2 separate regions of the Homo sapiens genome follow, and region 2 is linked to region 1. The links are contacts of gene promoters, found by promoter capture Hi-C in blood cells and fetal thymus (Javierre and others, 2016). All regions are on one chromosome and are shown on one strand. Each heading gives the region's core, a stretch centred on a gene start or on the middle of the fragment in contact. The rest is flanking DNA. Distances are from core to core; before and after follow the strand shown.

What was found. Contacts are between HindIII fragments. The CHiCAGO score rates a contact against its expected background, and 5 or more counts as called.
Region 2: a contact is called between the fragment with the promoter of PDIA6 here and the fragment with the promoter of SMC6 in region 1, in 1 of 17 cell types (neutrophils). The highest score is 5.2, in neutrophils.

The regions. Positions count from the first base shown.
Region 1 is chr2:17,751,676-17,755,444 of GRCh38, reverse strand. SMC6 (structural maintenance of chromosomes 6) reads left to right here and starts at 1,635. Exons shown (of 28, transcript NM_001142286.2): 1 at 1,635-1,819; 2 at 2,381-2,467. It overlaps GEN1 (GEN1 Holliday junction 5' flap endonuclease), which reads right to left and starts at 1,307. Exons shown (of 14, transcript NM_001130009.3): 1 at 1,100-1,307. RefSeq lists silencers at 1,520-1,659, 1,800-2,159. The HindIII fragment of the contact is 9,742 bases long and covers 25-3,769 here.
Region 2 is chr2:10,810,914-10,814,682 of GRCh38, reverse strand. PDIA6 (protein disulfide isomerase family A member 6) reads left to right here and starts at 1,898. Exons shown (of 13, transcript NM_005742.4): 1 at 1,898-2,005. The coding sequence starts at 1,987. RefSeq lists a silencer at 1,596-2,345 and an enhancer at 2,836-2,895. The HindIII fragment of the contact is 7,767 bases long and covers 1-3,769 here.

The DNA.
Region 1 (3,769 bases), core at 386-2,885:
TGTCTACTATTTAACAGGAAAGCTTTATAGGTGCTGGAGATACAATAATGGAAGATCAAGCCCTGCATTTAAAGACCTTAGTAGGGTAAGTGAGACTGCAGATAAAAAGGGCTTAAGAGGTAAGAAAGCAAGCTATAGTTGTATTTAGGAAAAAAGGTCCCCCACTTAGGAATCAAGGAACGGTTCCTGAAGCAAGTGACATGTAAGTAGGGACCTCCCAACCGTGTTTCCCATTGGTTACAACAAGGCCAGATGTTTTGGTCTATTTTGACTATGTCATATTTTTCGTTGATCCATGGCAAGGGCCACAGTAGGAATATAATATATATGTGATTACTTTTAGAAATAAAAAGTGACTTTGATGTAAAGAATTCCATTACCGGAGGCCAGAATTTCAACATCAATTTATTTGGAGGTGGAGTGAGGTGGCAGTCAATGCATTATTTTCCCCACACAGAAGAGAAGATTTTGGAGTATGAAAAGTAGGTTACTTGTTAGGTCAGCATATTCATGGGAAGGGTTGTGTAAAGACTGAAGCGGGAGTGTGGGGTTGAGAAGGGCGCTGAAACCTAAGCCAAGGAAGTTAAGACTTCATTACTTCTGACGTTTATTTAGGGGGTTTACACTCTAGGTTACCGTGGGGGAAAGACTGATTGTAAATAACTACAATACCTTAAAGTAATTACTATAACAGAACTATATCCGAAATACAAGGTTAACACGGAAAAGGGAACACCCAACTGTGCCTATGGGGACCAGGGAGGGCTCTCCCGGGATGGCTTTGAGCGAGGCGTGGGAATTATCCCCATCGCATGCCCGGGGGAAGCACAGCGGGACCCAGCAGCTTCGGCCAAGCGCAAGCGGCCGGAGAACGCGCAGCTTTCCCGAGGCGGGGTGACGCAGGGCCCTCGCGAGTGGAAAACAGGGGCCAAGTCGCGGCCTGGCGGCTCGGTTCGGACTTCCTACTTTATTCAAAGGGAGTCATTGAAGGCGTTTTCGGAGGAGCAGCGAACAAAGAGCTCGTCCGTAAGCCAGATGGTCAAAGGAATCAGTGGGAGGACCCGGGCGGCGCCGTCTCTCCACGTCCCGCGGGACTTACCCGGACAACCCTTCCTCCTTGGCTCTGGAAGAAGCCCCTTCGTCATTTACCAGTTTGGCCTGAATCCTAACTACTGTGCCTCCAAATTTCTGAATTTTCTCAAAAGGAAAAAAAAAAAGGAAAGTCCTCTTTCTTTACCCAAGCAAAGACTAGCTCCCCGGGCTCAACCGCCAGGCCCAGGAGCACCAGGAAGCGTTTCGAATCCAGCGCCGGGCCCGCGCGGCCCCGCCTCTTCCGGGAAGTGACTGACCCCTTTCCCCCAATGGGGCCCGCTCGGCTTTCCCTTGCCGGCTCCCAGCCGGCCTAGCGGACGCATGCGTAGACCAGCTGCCGGGGGCGCTCAATTATCTTTCCCTTTTACTTAGGCAAATCACTCACCTCCCCCGAGTCCGGTCACTGCGGAGCCGCCCGTGCCTACCAGCTTCCCCCACCCGCTAAGGGGCACTTCCGGCCTCTCAGACTCCGGCGGCGCGAAACCCCGCAACTGCGCAGGCGCGGGCGGAGCCCGAAGGGAGGGAGGGCGGGGCGCAGGCGCGGTTAGTACCGCGGTGGGCGCCGGGGCTCCCGGGAATCTACCTTCTCCTGCGGCCGGCACGCGGTTCCCAGGGGGCCAGCGGCGGTCAGCCGAGGTCGAGACGCCCGCAGGGTGGCCTTAGCGGCCGGTCGTACCACGGCAGCCCCGCCGATCAGGTTCCTTTGGGAGACTTCGACTTGTTGGCGGTAGGGTGAAGGCGCGCGCTGTCGCTTTCCCTTGCTCCGGGGTTCATCCTCCGCCCGCTGCCCCCTTGGCTGGCGACCCCCAGCCACCCGGGAGAGGCAGGGTCAGCTGAGCTGCGGCGGTGTTCATGGTCGTCCTTGCGGGCCCGGGCGGGAGATGTCCGTTCCTCGGGCGGGTCGGGCGGCCGGCGGCACCTTCGCGCGCTCTCCGAGGCGGCACCGGTCTCCTGAGCCGCGGGAAACCTGGCGTCTGCTCCGGGCCGTCCCCTCCCAGGCGGCCGTCCCCTCCCAGGCGGCCGTCCCCAGACTCTCCCGGGCTGTGGCGAATAACTGTAAAGCGGGGAGAGGTCTGGGGAAAGCTGGGGTAGGGAGTGGCTCTTAGCATGAGTCTGATGATATCTCGCAGGCGGCAACTGGTGTGTTTAAAGGGTGTATGCAAAGATCACTGAAATCGGATTTGTCATTAAAGCCCAGTTTTACGAAAATGCAAATTGTATTACCTAGAAAAATTAACATGTGTTCAAAGGTTTACTGATGGCATTTCTCTGCCCTCATTTCTTACAGAAATGAACCGGAGAAGAATCCCAATTGGGAATTGCGGAAAACAGGACTCTAGGGTAGAGAAAGGTTGTAGAACCAATAGGGTTTGAGGTAATACTGTGAAAATTCTTAGAGCAATCATTTGGTGTTTGAGCCCTCAAGACAGAAGTTTTGTGAGCGCTTATTACTCTGCATATGTCACGAGTAGTAGATTAAAAGCCAGTGTTTTAAAGGCAAACTTCTCAGTAATATATATTCAAAGGAAAAAAGAAAAACCCAAATCTCCTGACTTTTATATGGTTGCAGTGTGATCTTTTAACATGTACAATAGTATATACAGTGGCATGCAGTTTGTTCCATGGGTGTGTGGGTAGAGAGGGAACATATTAGAACTTCTATTTAGATTTATTTCATTTGATTTCTACGTGAAACATAGGGTATTAATTTTATGTTGGAACATGTATTTCAAATTTCTTTTGCTTAATGGGTGCAAGTACAAAACGTTTGGAGGCCACTAGTATATTGCCTAAAAGCGTGTATTTATATCACAAAAAGCCAGAATTGTGTGACTCTGAGCAGGTTGGTACCACCTCTTTAAGTTTCAGTTCTTCTTATGCAAGTTGGAAGAAATAATACAGTTATCAGTGCATCCTCTGTATCCGTGGACTCAATCAAGGGACTGAAAATATTTCAGAGGAAAAAAAGTGGATGGTTGCACAGACTTTTTTTTGTTCTTGTCATTATTCCCTAAACAGTACAGTATAACAACTATTCACATAGCATTTGCATTGTGTTAGGTTATATAAGTAATCTAGAGATAACTTTTAAGTATGTGGGGAGGTTATATGCAAATATGACACCATTTCATATAAGGGACTTGAGCATCTGTGGATTTTGGTATCTGAGTGAGAGAGAGGGGCTGTCATTTTGGAACCAATTCTTAGGGATTGACTGTACCTAGCTGACAGGATTCTTAAATATGTGGACACAGAGAGGAAGAGAAAGTTATGTAGTTATATATCGACATCTGTCTGCAATCCGTATAAACCAGTTAGTATTGAGCCTGGCAAAAAGTACACAAGTCATGTTAAAGGTATTACAGTGAAAAACAAGTTTTATTCCCCAAAGGTTTATTTTACTGAGTGTATTTTACTGAATCTGTAGAATTTTATGTAAAACCTACCTAAATCTTGACTGTCATTTTTAGACCAAAGTTAGGAAAAATAATTAAAGCTGTACTTGGCTTACTTTTAGGAATTAGTAAGTAACTCAAAATTTTACCGTGATAGCTTGCATTATATTTAAGACACAATTAAATGCCATAGTTCTTTATACACAACGATAAGTCCAGCTGACTGAGGGTCAAGCGTAGTTGCTTAGGTTAATGTTAGCATTTTTGATTCACTATTTAAA
Region 2 (3,769 bases), core at 649-3,148, 6.9 Mb after region 1:
GAATTAAATTCCTCCATCCAGGGAGGAAAAGCATGACTTTCCAGGCTGAGAGGAAAAGGAAGGACTTCGCTGTAATCCAGTCAGCAACAGCAGCAAATTTAAGGGGGGAAATGTGTCAAATGCAGGAAAGGGGTCAGAAAAACAAACAGCATTCATTGCCCCTCAGGCGCCCTTCAGGGAAAGCAGACAGGCCTGGAGGAACAGGCTCGCAGTCCACTGCCCTTTGCTGTGAATCCCAAACAGCCCTGCGATCACCGGTTGGGCTTCCCACGCACCTTCACATTCAGGAGGAGCTGCCCGGGGTACCAAGCTGAGGATTTCTGTCCCGGGACAAGCAGCCTCCCTGGGGAAAATCAATGCTGGCATGTGGCTTCCAGGAGAGGCCCCCGTGACTTCAGAGGGCTGCTGTGCCTCTGAGTTCAGTTTGCCTGAAAAATCTTCCAAACGCAGCTCTAGTGCCACTTCCTCCAGGAAGCCCACCAGCCGGCCCCCACCACTCCTGGACCCCTGCCTAAGAATACTTATGCCTTACACACTACAATATGGAGAAATTACTAATACAAAAACAAAATGTCCGAGTCCACTCCAAACATAGGAGGGAGAATCAAGGCGGAAAGATACAGTGGTCTTAACTTGTGCTTGAAAGATTTTACTTTTAGGTCGGGCGTGGTGGCTCACAACTGTAATCCTAGCATTTTGGGAGGCCGAAGCAGGCGGATCACCTGAGGTCGGGAGTTCGAGACCAGCCTGGCCAATATGGAGAAACCCTGTCTCTGCTAAAAATACAAAAATTAGCCGGGCGTGGTGACATGCACCTGTCATCCCAGCTTCTCGGGAAGCTGAGGCAAGAGAAACCCTGTCTCTGCTAAAAATACAAAAATTAGCCGGGCGTGGTGACATGCACCTGTCATCCCAGCTTCTCGGGAAGCTGAGGCAAGAGAATCGCTTGAACCCGGGAGGCAGAGGTTGCAGTGAGCCAAGACCCCGCCTTTGCACTCCAGCCTGGGCAACAAGGGCAAAACTCCATCTCAAAAAAAAGCAAAAAAATTTTTACTTTTGCCGGGCGTGGTGGCCCATGCCTGTGATCCCAGCACTTTGGGAGGCCGAGGCAGGAGGCTCACTGCAGCCCAGGAGTTCAAGGCTGCAGTGAACTGTATCATGCCACTGCTCGCCAGCCTGCCCCACAAACATATTTTTTTTCACTTTTGCATATTTTACAAAGCACACACCCACGTGAGCGCATTGCCAGCCCCCTCGCCCCCCAGGACAAAGTGGAGACCCTGTCAGCGAGGAGGCTACCGCTTAAGTCCCTGGGGTTCTCCAGAGAAGGAGGAGAAGGCTCTGCAGAGCCATGCGCCCTGGACGGAAGAACTTTCAAAAGTAATTCAACAAAATAGAAACTTGTCGAATTACATTGCAGACAGCGCGTGCGGAGCAAATGTGTGTCCACGGAATATTCGTCGGGCACAAGAGGAATTCCCTGTCAGCTCCCAGGACCGTGGGTGCCCTGAGGCCGAGTCACGCTCCCCCGGGATAAAGAGGGTGGGGGCGCACACAGGCAAGGAGGAGGCGGGGTGGGGGGGTGCAGAATAAGGAACTAAGGTAAAAACGCCCAGTACTGGACTCCCCTCCGAGCAGCACCCCGAGAGGGCCCGGAGGAGCTGAGGCGGTGCGAGCCGAGACTGCCAGCCCCGCCCCCAGCAGGCCCCGCCTTCCGCTGCTCGCCACCGCCCCCGTGAAAAAAAACCAAACCGGTAACCTCTACCCGGCCGCCTCCCATTGGATATGTGAGTGAGCGATGTCCGCCCGGACCAATGAGCCGCAGCCACGGCTTGGCGAGCGCCTTCCGGCCCGCCCCCGCGCGGCCGCCCCTCGGACCACCGGACTGGCCTGGGGCGGGACGTGGGCGCGGGGGCGCGGCGTGCGGCACGCTGCAGGGCTGAAGCGGCGGCGGCGGTGGGGACTGCACGTAGCCCGGCGCTCGGCATGGCTCTCCTGGTGCTCGGTAGGTGCGGGCCAGCGGAGGGAGGCGGGCGAGCTGGGGTCGGCCTGAAAGGTTTCGAATCTCTAGGCCGTTCCCCGGCGGGCCGCGGCCGCAGGCGGCCGGAAGTGGGCCTGGCGGGCGGGAGGCGCGGGCCTCGGCGTCCGGAGGAGCTGCTAGGTTGCCCCGGCGGAGGTGCGGGTGCGCGGGAGACTCGGGCGCCCGTGGGGAGGGGCTTCCGCAGCCGCGGGGGGCGGGAGCCTCGTGCGCTGGAGCCGGGCGCGGGGTCCAGGGCCGGGCGGGAGAGCCGCGGAGCCCAGCCCCGGCCGGATCCCGGGGAGGGGGTCTGTATTCCCGGAGAGTCGCAGGGGAGCTTGTTCCGGGCTCTTCTCGAACTCGTGCGTGGGGACGGAGGTTGGCGGGCGTCCTGCACTGCTGCTTGTTTCTGCCACCTGCTTTATGCAGCTCCTACTTTTAAAAACTGAAATGTTAAGCCGGGCGCGGTGGCTCACACCTGTAATCCCAGCACTTTGGAAGGCCGAAGCGGGTGGATCATCTGAGGTCAGGAGTTCGAGACCAGCCTGACCAACATGGCGAAACCCCGTCTCTACTAAAAATACAAAATTAGTCGGGCGTGGTGTCGCGCGCCAGTGATCCCAGCTACTCAGAAGGCTGAGGCAGGAGAATCTCCTGAACCCCCAGGAGGCGGAGGTTGCAGTGAGCCGAGATCGCGCCACTCCAGCCTGGGCAACAAGAGTGAAACTCTGTCTCAGAAACGAAAAACTGAAATGTTAAATCTCAGTCCTGAAATAAGGACCCATAGTTCCCTTAGAAAGGGACAGTGCCTTCCAAAAGCTGGGCTTAAGACGCAGGGGCGCTTCGCATGTGATCGGACTCCTTAAAAACGAAATGGAACGCGGCGTCTTAGGAATTCTGTAAATGTCTGCTTCTTAGTGGGCGAGGCCGAGGGTCCTGTCCTTGCCGGGCTCGCCTTGGTCACAGCCTTGGCTCTGACAGTCCTTAACCTCGGCTCTGGCCTCAGACCACCTTCCCCCTATTTACTGGCTCTGTGACTTGGAGCAAGTTACTTAACCACTCTGTGCCAGTGCCTTTTCAACGGTGTTCACCATTTTAGGGACTGATAATAGTACTCCCTTAGGGTTGTCCTGAGGATTAATGAGTTAGTACATGTCTTTCTGTTTTTTGAGACACGGTCTTGCTCTGTCTCCTAGGCTGGAGTGCAGGGTTTCCATCATAGTTCACTGCAGCCTGGAACTCCTGGTCTCAAGGGATCCAGGCACATGCCACCACACCTGGCTAATTTTTAAATTTTTTGTAGAGTCAGGGTCTCATTGTATTGCTCAGGTTGGTCTCAAACTCCTGGCCTCGAGTGATCCTCCTTCCTCAACCTCCCAAAATCCTGGGATTACAAGTGTCAGTCACCTGGCCCAGCTAGTACATGTTTTAAAGAGATGTAAATATTTGCCATATTACTGTGGAGAGAGTAGATGAGGGGAAAAGAGTTTAGTCTGTTTAGTTTCCTGTGAGTGAATTCAGACTAGACCCTGAAAGAGTCCGTGAGTCTATTAATTAACTCATTTTAATAAATGGCAGCCTTTCTGGGAAACCTCATGGTTTCTAGATGACTGCTCTGGGACTGTAGACTCCTCCTAGCAGATGTGGGACAGAGATGTTACTGATGTGAATTTATAGCATCCTTAACTGCCATGGAGGAATGGAAAACCACAGATGGCAGAGCCATCTGCTCACAGAGATTCTAGACACTCA